Linked DNA regions of Homo sapiens: regions 2 and 3 are each linked to region 1. Evidence: promoter capture Hi-C in 16 types of primary human blood cells and fetal thymus (Javierre and others, 2016). All regions are on one chromosome and are shown on one strand. The core of a region is centred on a gene start or on the middle of the fragment in contact, and the rest is flanking DNA. Distances in the headings are between cores, read along the strand shown.

Evidence for each region. The method cuts DNA at HindIII sites, captures the fragments that hold promoters and counts their contacts. A CHiCAGO score of 5 or more calls a contact.
Region 2: a fragment that was not itself captured here is called in contact with the fragment with the promoter of SMC2 in region 1 in 1 of 17 cell types (M1 macrophages); the score reaches 6.5 in M1 macrophages.
Region 3: a fragment that was not itself captured here is called in contact with the fragment with the promoter of SMC2 in region 1 in 1 of 17 cell types (total CD4 T cells); the score reaches 5.0 in total CD4 T cells.

Annotation. Positions count from the first base shown.
Region 1 is chr9:104,092,484-104,096,591 of GRCh38, reverse strand. It overlaps SMC2 (structural maintenance of chromosomes 2), which reads right to left and starts at 2,283. Exons shown (of 25, transcript NM_006444.3): 1 at 2,115-2,283; 2 at 1,040-1,268; 3 at 295-444. The coding sequence starts at 1,207. RefSeq lists enhancers at 1,663-2,330, 2,549-2,868, 2,331-3,000. The HindIII fragment of the contact is 5,032 bases long and covers 1-2,716 here.
Region 2 is chr9:101,578,592-101,582,699 of GRCh38, reverse strand. GRIN3A (glutamate ionotropic receptor NMDA type subunit 3A) reads left to right here. Exons shown (of 9, transcript NM_133445.3): 7 at 3,340-3,504. Among named protein-coding and RNA genes, the nearest start is that of PPP3R2, 14 kb to the left of the region's middle. The HindIII fragment of the contact is 3,086 bases long and covers 877-3,962 here.
Region 3 is chr9:101,599,212-101,603,319 of GRCh38, reverse strand. All of the region lies in intron 6 of GRIN3A (glutamate ionotropic receptor NMDA type subunit 3A), which reads left to right. Among named protein-coding and RNA genes, the nearest start is that of PPP3R2, 6.3 kb to the right of the region's middle. The HindIII fragment of the contact is 1,138 bases long and covers 1,251-2,388 here.

The DNA.
Region 1 (4,108 bases), core at 1,034-3,533:
AGTACACAGGTGTTCAAGAACAACCAAAGAAGATTCAAATATGGTTTAAGATTTCAGCATAGCTGAGTGCTTATACTGGATGAACAACTTTTCAGCTGTCTTTCAATCCTCTTAGTGATAGAATGTGCATGATCAAGATTTTAATATAAGGAAGACATTAAGGAATCTAGTCAGAATTTAAGGCACCAATTTTGCTCATGAACTTTCTCTAGCACGTTTTGCAAAGGCATAGGGCCAAAAACCACATCAGACATAAAAGGTCTTAAGATACCCAAAGGTTTAATTGCCACTCACCTGCCTTGTTACTGTGATTTCATCATGAACCTCAAATCCTAAAGGACTTTGCTTTTTGTCAGAATTATCAAAAGTGATTGACACAGAGGCTTTGGTAATACCAGCCTGCCCATTTTTGTAAACTAAATCTTGTAAATTAGAAGCCCGAACCTAAAATAAAATATGAAAAGTGTAACAATTACAAAACTCCCTACCGTACAAAGCAGCACTAAAAATGGGTCCCTTGCTGTTGGAAAACCCACCAACGTAGTGTCCATTAAGTAGACAAGGTTAGGCAGCTGCATCCTCTGGCAAGAAAAACAAGGAAAATAGGCAACAACCTGCAATGGACACTTTTCTCTACAGAACCTTTTCAACCCTGAATTGAATTGTTTCCTATTCATTTTTTAATAAAAAGTTACTTTGCAAGATATAAGGAAATACTGTCCCAAAGATTTTCACTAGTCATTCAATCCATTAATAGGATTTGAAAAGGCATCATTACACAGGGTTGAAAATACTCTGGAATGAGACTGCTTTACAGTCAGAATGCCTGAGTTTTGAGGCACTGTTACTTCTAAACATCTCTAAGTTTCTATTTTCTCATCTAAAGGAGTAATATTACTTTCCTTAAAAGGTTGCAGTGAGGTGTAATTTACAAAAAGTATAAAAACACAAATGAAGAGAATATCGGGACGTCTCCAAAGTTCAGTGAGGATTCTCCTGCCAACTTAAATTCAAATAAATCAGAAAGTTTACACTTTACCTGAGACAGGTTGGAGATGCCCAGCAAAAAGCAGATGGAGTCCAATATGTTGGATTTCCCACTACCATTTAAGCCAGTGATAGCATTGAAGAGGGGGTCAAAACCATTGACTTCGGTCCTCTGAGCATAGGACTTGAATCCCTCTAGAATAATTGACTTAATATGCATTTTCGATACTGTCTTGGGTCAGCAAACCTCTGACAGGAATCAAACAGGCCACAAACCAGTTCTGTACGAAACAGAAATACCACCACCTAAGTGGAATGTAAACCTGGAATCATAATGAACACGAGGCAAAAACAGCAACGATAGGGTGATAGAAATAAAACAGCCACTTGACAAACTATCTTGTCTGATGTAAAGACATCGTTCATCTACTCAAAAATATACCAGAGTTAGCCACTATCTGGAAATTAAACCATTCAACTGGGAAGTCTTAACTATTTCTTCTACCCGTTTTTCCAGGCTTGCCTTCTACTTTTATCATACTCTACCTAAACAAAGACTATGGATTATTACATATCCCATTATCTTTGCCTATAATGTGCTTTTCTCTGATACTGACATAGCTTACTCTCTACTGCACTCACGTCTTTGCTCAAATGTCACCTTACTGGAGTCCTCCCTGACCTCCCTATGTCACCTCTCCACAATCCTTCACTCGGCTTTCTTTTTCCTTCATGGTACTTAAAGCTGATATTAGACGGTCATTACTTGTCTGTAAGTTCCCGCAGTGTCTTCACCTACGTCCGTCATTGCATCCCCGAATTGTGCTTGACTCCGGGAGGAGGGGAAGTCATTTAAGTATTTACTAGAGATGAGATGTATCTCATATTCTCCAACTTCTTGCTTTTACTCAGGCTTTTACCTCGCTTCTCCAGGCCTGTCTACACCTCTTCGCCCTACTCCAAGGTCGAACAGAAGCTAGCCTTTATTTCTAAGGATCACCTAAGGTCCCTCTGCCACTGGTCCCCCTCCCTACAGCCCCCGCGCCCCGCGCCCCGCCTCCCGCCTCCCGCCTCCCGCCAGGAAGTCTGGCCCGGCCCAACCGGCCGTGCTCACGCACACGCCTCACCGCTGCCTCAGGCCAGGGGCTTGACGCACCCCAAAAGCTCCTCCGGGTCACAAAGGCAGGGAACAGAACAACTCTCTAGCCGGGGCCGCTACAAAGCGAACTTCACCATAGCGGCTACAACACCTGCCACACCGCTCTCAACACCCGCGCCGGAACTATTTATTCCTTTGAATTTCGGCGCGAGCAAAGGACCCCACCTCCATTGCTTATTTCCTGTGCTGGTGCCTAGGAGCTGCCTGTCTTTAGGGTTCAATTTTTCCCCTACACTCGAAGGATTAAAGCCGCAGGGCAATAGAATGAGAGTCTCGATAATGGTAGCTCCGGGGACTCCCCGGCAGGGGCCTGGGCACTACAGGAGCAGATAGTGTATGTTCACACCGGCGTCCGGCACTCTATGGTCAGCCCCACACCTCGGCCCCGGGTCCTCGCGCTTCGCCAGCCCCGCCCCGCCTCGGTCCCTCTAGTTCGCGTTAGGCACACTGCAGACTCCGCCTTCTCCAGTCTGCGGTGCTGGCTGTGGCTTACTTTTCTCTCCTCAAAGCGACAGTTAGGAAGTGGAGAGGCATTCTATGAGTGTTCTCGTCGGTTCTGTTTTGGAAGCTTCAGAATCTTCTCGGGTTGGCTCAGATTGCTGCAAAATAAAAGCTGTACTTCTTGGGGCCAGAGAGGCACCGTCCTTCGGGGGACTCTGGCCCGCGTCCTGGCTCCGCCCCGTACTGGCCTCGGACCTCGGGGAGCGTTTTTATCTGAAGTTTCCACGTCGGAAAGGGATCGTAGTCTACCGAGAGCTGTTCCGAGCCCAGAGGAGAAATTGTGTGGTGCTAAATAGCTATTCATCTCCCTTATACCGGAAAGCGTTGTAATGATAAGCCGACCTAACCTGTTGGGGATTTTTTCTGGAAACCTTTTAAGACAGTTCATGTTATTGAGTTCTGAATATTAGGCTATATTGCAAGGGGCTTTTTAAAATCCACGTAGCAACCCTATGAAATCAGAAATTGCCCTCGTTTTACAAATGAGTTAAATGAGACCAAGTAAAAGGTTAAACAGCTTGTCTAGTAAGCTGGGATTTGTTCCCAGGCGGTCTAGCTCCAGATTGCATGCTTTTAAATACTAGGCTTCATGCATAGAATCTAGTATTATTAGCCGATCCTATTATTAGTATGTATTGTTCTTTAGGAAGAAAAAACGTGTCAGGATTGCTCACGTTTCCAAGCACGTTGATACTTAAGAGTTAGGAAGGGCTTAACTCCGAATGGGTATGGTGTTACCCTAAGTGAGGTTCAAAAAGATGGTGTGGGCAACAATGCTATTTTGGAATGGCTTGATCCTTTTGGGCTTCCATAACAAAATATCCTAGACTGGGTAGTTTATGAACCACAGAAGTTTATTCTTCACATTTCTGAAGGCTGGAATGTCACAGAATAAGGTGTGTCTAGGGAGGGGTGCTTTCTCTTTAGTGGATAGCACCTTCTGGCTCTGTCCTCGCATGGTGGAGAGGCAGAGGCCCTCGCTTGGGCCTATTTTATAAGGACCTTAATCCCATTCCTCACTTCCCAAGATGCCACTTGCTAAAACCGTCAGTTCGGGAGTTAGGATTTCAAAATGTGCATTTTGAGGGACACATTTAGACCATAGCGTAGGTCATGTTTTTAAAGTTGCTTTCTTGGCCCTGGAATGGCAATGCAGTCATCTGAATTGGTCTTAACCTACCAGGAATGGGCTTATATTTTGAAAATATTTCTCGATAAGGGAGTAAAATAAGTTGTATGGGTTTTTTGTTTAAGAAAGGATTCCTTTGTTTACTCTGGTATGCTTATCCACTTCTGTGATGTCAACCATGGGTAGTGACCTAACATTAATTTAATTCAACAGATATCTTTGTCTGCCTTGATTCCTGCATCCCCTGGGCTCCACAGCTATTCACTTGTATTGATTCTGTTAACTCTTACACATTAACTTTGAGCTGTGTCTCCTTCCTTTTATCATTTTGT
Region 2 (4,108 bases), core at 1,170-3,669, 2.5 Mb after region 1:
TGTTCTTAATCCACAGCAATAACTCACTGAATCCTTCATATTATAGCCATATCCTGTACACATTAAAATAGGTCTAGGTCAAGGACTATTTTCAGACACATTTGTATGTACTTTCTGCATGTCAGGTTTACATAACTAGTCACCATTTGCACACAGAGATGTCCCAGGAAAATCCCTAGTACCTCTGAAGCCCTTGGGGTCCAACGTGCTTCCCTACCAAACCCTTTCCCAGACCAGCATTCCTTGTTTCGTAGGGCTGGGCTTCGGCCTGCATTCCCAAGTCATCTGCCCAATTTTCCTGCCTTGTGCCAGTCTCCGAGCCCCTGCTCAGCTCTAGTCTTTCCTTTTCTAGGGACCCTAACACTAGTCTTTGATTCACAGCCTGCAGTACTGGCATGGAGGGAAAGAGATTTCCTGAGCTAGGCTCCAACACAGCCTGAAATCTCCGACCTTTTCTTCTGAGTCCTGACCCCCAGATAGACTTCCCTATGCACCCTATGCCTGAATCATGCCTGGCCGGCTGTTTCTCCAGAATAGAGGTGGAGAGAGGTGGGGAGAATGAAAGGAAAACCTTTAAAGAGAATGGGAGGATCATTCACATCAGACAAATGAGTCAGTGAAGACTGTGGGCTCTGAAAACAGACGGCATGGGTTTGAATCCCAGCTCTAACCTTCACGAGCTATGTGACCTTGGACAAGTTATTGAACTTCTTTGTTGCTCAGTTTCTTCACTTATAAAATGGAGATTATACCAGTATTTACCTTATAAATTGTCATAAAGATAAGGCAAGTTGCTACATTGATAAAGTGCTCAGAATTGTGCCTTACACATATTCAATGCTAAATAATTATAAATGATAATGATGACCAAAAGCTTCCAGCAAAGGGATAACACCCAGGCTCCTTAGTACGGCATCTGAGGATTTGCCTAGTGTGGCCCTGTTTCTCTCTCACTGCATATCTTTGTCCATGTGTGCCATTATAACAAAATACCCGAGACTGGGTACTTTATAAAGAAGAGAAGTGTATTCCCCACAGTTCTGGAGGCTGGAAGTTCAAGATCAAAGCACCACCAAGTTTATTGTCTTAGTAAGGGCCCAGTCTCTGCTTCCAAGATGGCATCTTGTTGCTTGTCCTCCACAGGGGACAAATGATGTGTCCTCCCATGGTGAAAGGCTGGAAGGGCAACAAAAGGGACTAGCTAGCTTCCTCAAGCCCTTTTATAAGGGCACTCATCCCTTCATAAGGGCTCTTAATACCAACCCTTGGAGTTTAGGTTTAAACATATGAGTTTGAGAGGGACATATACATTCAAACTATGGCACTATTCATGCCTTGTATACTTTTCCTTCAGCCACAGCAGTCAGTTTCACAACACTATACCACTGTCCAGGAAAGTCATGTCTTTTTTCCTTTGTTTATGCTACCCTCAGGTTAGTATGTTCACTTTCCCCACCCAACCTCCCCATCCTGCCTGTCTTATTCAAATGTTATCTCATGAACCAGCTTCCCCACAAATCCCAGGAAGCATGGATCAAATGTATCATGGAGGTATATGTTTGTTTTCTCCCTAGACTCAAGCTGTTTAAAAGGAAAGATATAACTTCCTTCTATCTCTATCCCATGATACGCAGAAGAGTGCCTGGCACCTAGTATTAACTCAATATATTATGTATTTTTACTTCTACGGGATTGACTCTTGTCATTGATGTCAATGGCTAAATAATGGCTGTTTTAGAGTACATGTGAGGGTTTTCTTAATCTACACAAATCACTTAGCAAAGTGCTGGCCACAGATATTTATTGTAACTACTATTGTTGCTATAACTGCTGCTGTTTTGGTATATAGCAGTAGAGCAGAAAGAGCCCAGGCTTTGGAGCTGAACAGAAATGGACTGAAAGACCAACTTTGCCACTTAAAAGTTGCAGTAACTCCACTTTCCTTAGTTATAAAATAGACGTTATATATCTATTTTAATGTAAAACACTTGGCAGAAAGTAAGCAACCAATAAATATCATTAAGTTCCTTCTCTTTCTCTTCTATGCCTTTTTTGTGGCTTGGCTCGGTTTACTACACTTCTCTGGTCTCACTTTCCTCCTCTGTAAATGAACTAGATGATTTCCATGTTCCCTACCAGATCCAAATTCCAAAGTTACTGAACTCACCATCTTTTTCCCCTTAAATCTACTCATTCTCTTCCCTGAGGGACGTTCTTTCCTTGACAGCTACCAGGTATATTAAATTGTTTCAATTCTCTATCTCTATCTCTCTCAATCTCTAAGAGACCATAAGGTGGTCCAGACCCAGGGCCTTGGCACAACTCCAGGGGCCATTTGCACAGTGGATTAACATACGAATAGCGCCTGTCAACTGAAGAATCATGAGCTTCATAAATTTGGCCAGGAGATCTTTAGTTCTCATAAAGGGTTGCAGCCAGCAGGCCAGCCATCCTGCAGAATGGGAAGCATAGCCTCAGCAGAAGCTGAGAGCAAGCACTTCAAGGGAGGGGTAAAAGGGAACAGGAATTTATGCTGAGTGGGGTGGCTGAGTATACGTATTGAGTAAGCTATAGGAGGAGTCATAAATATTTATGAAAAGAGATACATGCACATGTGCAGTTGAGCTTCATGCCTCTTCCTGGGCCCATGTTCAAAAAATGGTGGTGTTAGCATGACCCGAGGGTGGAGATTTTGGTCTTCTGATGTCCAAATGTGAAGCAGAGGACATGAAAACCCTCACTATGCATCCCCCACAAGTTGGCCAAAACCATCTGGAGATTGTGGTCATTTTTTAGGAAGGGTGCATTGGGAAACTGGTGAGCTGTCACACTGAAACTGCAAAGAGGGAGGGAGAATCTGGTTATGGCCTTAGATGATTAGCTAAAGGTGATAAAGCAATGAGTTATCGGTTTCTTGTTTTCCAGAGCTAGCTTTTGCTTACTTCTTAAGAATGAATTATGGCTAAAGGTTAATAAGGAAGGGACAACTGAGGCATGACAGACCTCCCATCCAATCAAGGCCAGGAACTCAGTTTTTAAGGTTTCTTCGGGGTCCCCATGGACAAGAGAAAGTTCGTTCAGTCGGTTGGAGAGCTTTTAATTTTATTTTTATTTCTCACCCTCTAGGCATTGGGTGCTCCTCGGCAGCCCTCAGTCCAACCCTGGCTGAATTTCTTTCATGATGTATAATGAAGGTCACAGAACACACAGGGAGAAATAGTCTCCAGCTGTCCTTGAGTCCAGAAAAAATGAATATCCATCTGAAAACCAAAGAGTACACAAGCATTGGGCCAGGTATATCATTGTATTCATGGCCTTTTCTTTCCTATTCTGTCACAGACTTTGCAAATGGGCATCAAACACTTCTCTGGGCTCTTTGTGCTGCTGTGCATTGGATTTGGTCTGTCCATTTTGACCACCATTGGTGAGCACATAGTATACAGGCTGCTGCTACCACGAATCAAAAACAAATCCAAGCTGCAATACTGGCTCCACACCAGCCAGGTGAGTGCCACAGGTGTCTTGCTCCAATATTCTTAAACTGTACAATTCCTAGGGATGGGAGGATCCAGAGCCCTATGTCAGACTACTAAGTTATGTTACCACAATAACGAGGGTGGGGTAGGCACTCTCATTAGAGCAGAAGGAATTCTCTCTATCCCATTAATTCACTTTTCCCTTAAATTAAGGCATCCCACAGTGCTCCTTCCTTTCCTATAACCCTCCACTGTTGTTCATAATAGAAGAAATAGAACTTTTTTAACCAGGTTTCACTTAATAGTGACAGTCTGAAAAGATGGTGTGAAAGATTTATTTCCTAGGTTCTTTTCTTGCCAAAATTGAAACCTATTACGTGAGTTTAAAGTCCCTGGTCCCCTTTAAGTGACCCCACTTGCCCCTGTTCTCTCTGCTTTTTCCCTGGTCCAGAGGGGTTTGAGACCCATTGGGGCCAAGGCCAAGCTTCACAAGGCCGCAGTTCTCTCCTGTTACCTAGACATCAACGCACTGATTTACAGGGAGAACTGAAACTGTCAAGCAGACTGGTGACTCAAGCACACTCGTTTGCATATCTCTCCCTGAATGAAATTGGCATGGAGACCCAAAATAT
Region 3 (4,108 bases), core at 570-3,069, 2.5 Mb after region 1:
AAATACATATATTTGGTGAATAATAAGCATAGACAAGAAATTACAGTTGGTGCACCCACCCTCTTAGGCCCATCTTGGTCCCATCTCGAAAAAAGCAGGAGCATCTTATCATTACAAGCATCTTCTAACTCCGAGATAAACACTCTTTTATGTATTGCTTACGTATGTTATAGAACCAAATAATTTTTTATTTCAAAATGAGAAATGCATGATTCTGGAATTTTCTACTTTTCAAATTGCTGGTTTAACTAACTTTTGTAGTGTTGTGTTCTTTCTTTCCTCTAGCTCAGTGTCTGAGTGGGAAAAAGTGAAGATGCTTTATACAAACCATTAGACTGCACTTAAAACAGATCTTTACGGAAACAATGGTAACTTGGTCTTTGCATGTAGTCAATTGTATTTCGAAGTTAGGCTCCTGTGTGAACAGGCCCAAGACCTACAATTCTCTGGTCTTGTTTTCCCCTCCCTCCGTATCATCACAAGATTAGGGCTGCTTCTCTGTTGCTTTCTGGCTACTATAAATAACACAAATTAGGATTCTGAGAGAAGGAAAACTAATTTCAGCAAGTGTCTCCTTCACCCTTGCTAACGACCAAGTAAACAGACCTCTCGGAATAAGAGTCCCCGCTTTTATATGCCAGAGATACTTGGGCATAAATTACACCCAAGACCACATACTGTTAAGAGTTCTTGCTTTTCCCCTGGTTAAATTCGGCAAACTCATGAATATTTATGAAATGCTATTTACTATGCAACTAAAAGGTATGAACGGTGCTAAAACTGATTAGGACTATTGTGAGAGACAGTCTTCCTTCCATTTTTTTAGACTTCCATGCACTAAAGTCTGTGGGGGATCACAGGAAATGGGACTCCTCACTCACCTCTATTCCCTGTGCAGAGAGGAGTTGCCTCCAGGCTTTGAGGATTCGGGTTTGAAGAAAGCGGAGAAAGCATGGAAATGTGTGAAGATTGCCATCTAGTGGCTATTGATGCGAGTTGTTACAAAATACTGCAAAAGCCATCTTTTTTCTTTCTCACAAAAGGCAAAAACCAAGTCTAAAATTGTGAGAAATTGCCCTGACATTTCCTCCAGGGTATCTGAGGACAATTCCTCCCCATGCGGCTGTGGGAGTTGGTAGAATTTCAGGACGTGTTGGATGAGAAGGCAACATCATGAGAGAGCCCTGGAGCCTTTATAGAGATGCCCCTCTTCTCACACAGTATAGGTGGCTTCCTGCAACATGAAAGCTTAGGGCTAGCTGGCCAGGGAAGCCAATGCACGCACATCTGGGGCCTCCTCTGAGCTCCTTCCCTCTGTCCTTCTGTCCAATAAGACTTCAGCCTAGGTGTTATGGGTTGGATTGTGTCCCCCAAAAAAGATATTGAGGTTCTGAGGTCCTAATTCTCAATACCTCAGAATGTGTTCTGGTTTGGAAATAGGGTCATTGCAGACATGTTTGGTTGAGCTGAGATGCAGTCATATTGCAGCAAGAGTGAACCCCGAATCCAGTATGACTGGCATCCTTGTCAGAAGCCATCTATCACACAAAGACAGACACTCAGGGAGAGCACCATGTGATGATGAAGGCAGAGAATGGATTTATGCATCTGCAAGTCAGGAAGGCCAAAGATGACCACAAACCACCAGGAGCTAGGAAGAGGCAAGCAAGGGTTGCCCTACAGGTTTCAAAGGGAGCATGACCCTGCCAACTCCTTGATTTCAGACTTCTAGCCTCCCGAACTAGGGGACAATAAATGTCTGTTGTTTAAGCCACCCCGTTTGTGCTGCTTCATTACAACAGCTCTTGCAAAATAATTAATACACTCCACATTTTACTTCTAGTGCCTCTTGCATCCCAGCTCAGGCTCTTCTAGACAAGCATTTGTAGATGTCATTGTTTCCTAGCTGCTCTCCCAGATACTGGTCTCTTGTCCTATTCAATCTACCCATAATGCCAGATTAATCTCTCCAAAATATAATTGTGATTAAGTTGTTCTTTTGATAAAACGTGTGCTTTCCCTACTGGGTAGAGACTAAATGTCTTAGCCAAACATTCAAAACCCTGCTTCATCTGGTTCTGTCTAGCTCATCTTCTGCTACTTTGCTCAAGTACTTCAGCCATTATAAGCAACTTGCTAATATCTACACCTGTACTCTTTCCCACTTCTGTGATTATGGTACTTGTTCCCTTTTCTCCCTCAGGATCAAATACTTCTTGAAGAAAGAAAAAAGTCTTCCTCTATTGTTCCCAGCAAGAAGTAATTTCTCAATTCTCTGAGTTCTTATAGTTCTTTTCCCTTACCTCTCTGATGACATGTTTTGTTGTCCATCTTGTATTATTAATTATAATTCTTTAATGCCTCAATTCACTCACTGATCAGCAAGCTTTCTGAGCAAAGACCATCTCTGAATGTCCCAATGCTTTACATGTTAAAACATGATTGAATAAATGATGCCCTATAAAGAATAATTGAGTAAATGTTGTCTTTTCTTCAGTGTATGGGGAATGGTCAAACCATCTTATCACTTCGTCCAATACCATGCTCTCCCTTGACCTCCCTACTCCGGTATGCTCCATATGCTCTCCCTTGACCTCCCTACTCCAGTCACACTGGCATTCTTTCAGTTCCTCCTACTTGTTTTGTTCCTCCTGCCCTAGGGCCTCTTTGCACATGGAGTTTCTTCTACCTGGAACACTCATTCCTTCCCAGAACATCTAGTTAACTTCTTCTGCTTCTTGAGATTGTAAATCAGTCATCATTTCCCCAGTAAAAGTTTTCTGTTGTCCAAACTCTCCTGGTACCATGTACTTCTCATCTGTAACACTCAAGGCAGGTGCTCCTTTACATCTATGGACATGATAATTTGGTTAATGTCCATCTTCCCATCAAAACTGTAAGCTCCAGGAGAACAGGGACAACAAGAAAAGTATCCACTTTAGGTCAGTATTATATTCTTCTCACATAGTAGATCCTCAATAATTATTTGTTGAGAAAACAAATAAATAGCTGAGTATATCTGTGTGCATGTATGCATACAGTCTACTTGAGTTTTTAAGCAAGCCTAAAGTAGGCAATAATTATAATCTCTACCATTCCTGTACCTACTATGTGATAGGCATTGAGCACCCTTCTTCTTATAATCTATCTCATTTAATCCTGAAAGTGATGTTATGAGTTAGTAATCATCATCCTTGTTTTACAGATGAGTGAAAAGATTCAGATAAGTAACTCTGCCCAAGGTCACAAAGTTGTTAAATAGCAAAACTTTGATTTAAAACCATACATGCCAAAATTCATTAAACACCATTTCAGTATTACAAAAGAAAACCAAACAGATGACAAACCTGATGCTCAAAAACAGTTTAAACTCGAGCTAGTAGTTCCACAGTCTAAACTGTGGCTAACGTCAGTACGCTTAGATATTAAATATGGTGACCGGCAATGCTACAGAAAGGTGAGAGCTTCCAACCAAATGTCAAGGACCACCTGTATAGCTTCTAGAACAGCTGTGTGACCTGGTCTCCTGACTGGCTTGAAAAATGAAGCCTTATATGAACCTCAGGTCTCATTTCCATTTCCGTTGGTTTGATTTTCCAATGTCAGTTATTTTTACATGTGACCTACTCAATATTTCTTTATCTAAAAACTTTTGAGGGAAAAAAATGACATGCTGAAATAGAGGTGCCATCAAGGCTCCTGGTTTCTTCCAAAACAGTTAGTCAACCCTTTTAATTTACTTGCTTCAGTGAATGTCCTACAGTCCACATCAATCCACAGTGATGAACAGAAAAGTAACAAACAGTGTTTTCCATGGAAATTACTAAGAATCATTTACAGAGAAAATCAAAACAATGGTGTTGAGTCCCATAATAATGCTGAGCTACATAGTTTATGAAAGGTAGAACAATGGGAACTCAAGTTCACATTGACTAAAACTCCAGATCTAGCATAATGTTACCTCCTCTACAGCACAGAGTAGAATGGTTCTGCTTGTACACCTGAATTATTTCAGTGAAGTGGTACCATCTTCCTAATACTGTCTGTGTAACCATTCAATATTCCTGTGACAAGATTTCACCTCTTACATAACATTTCTATATACGCT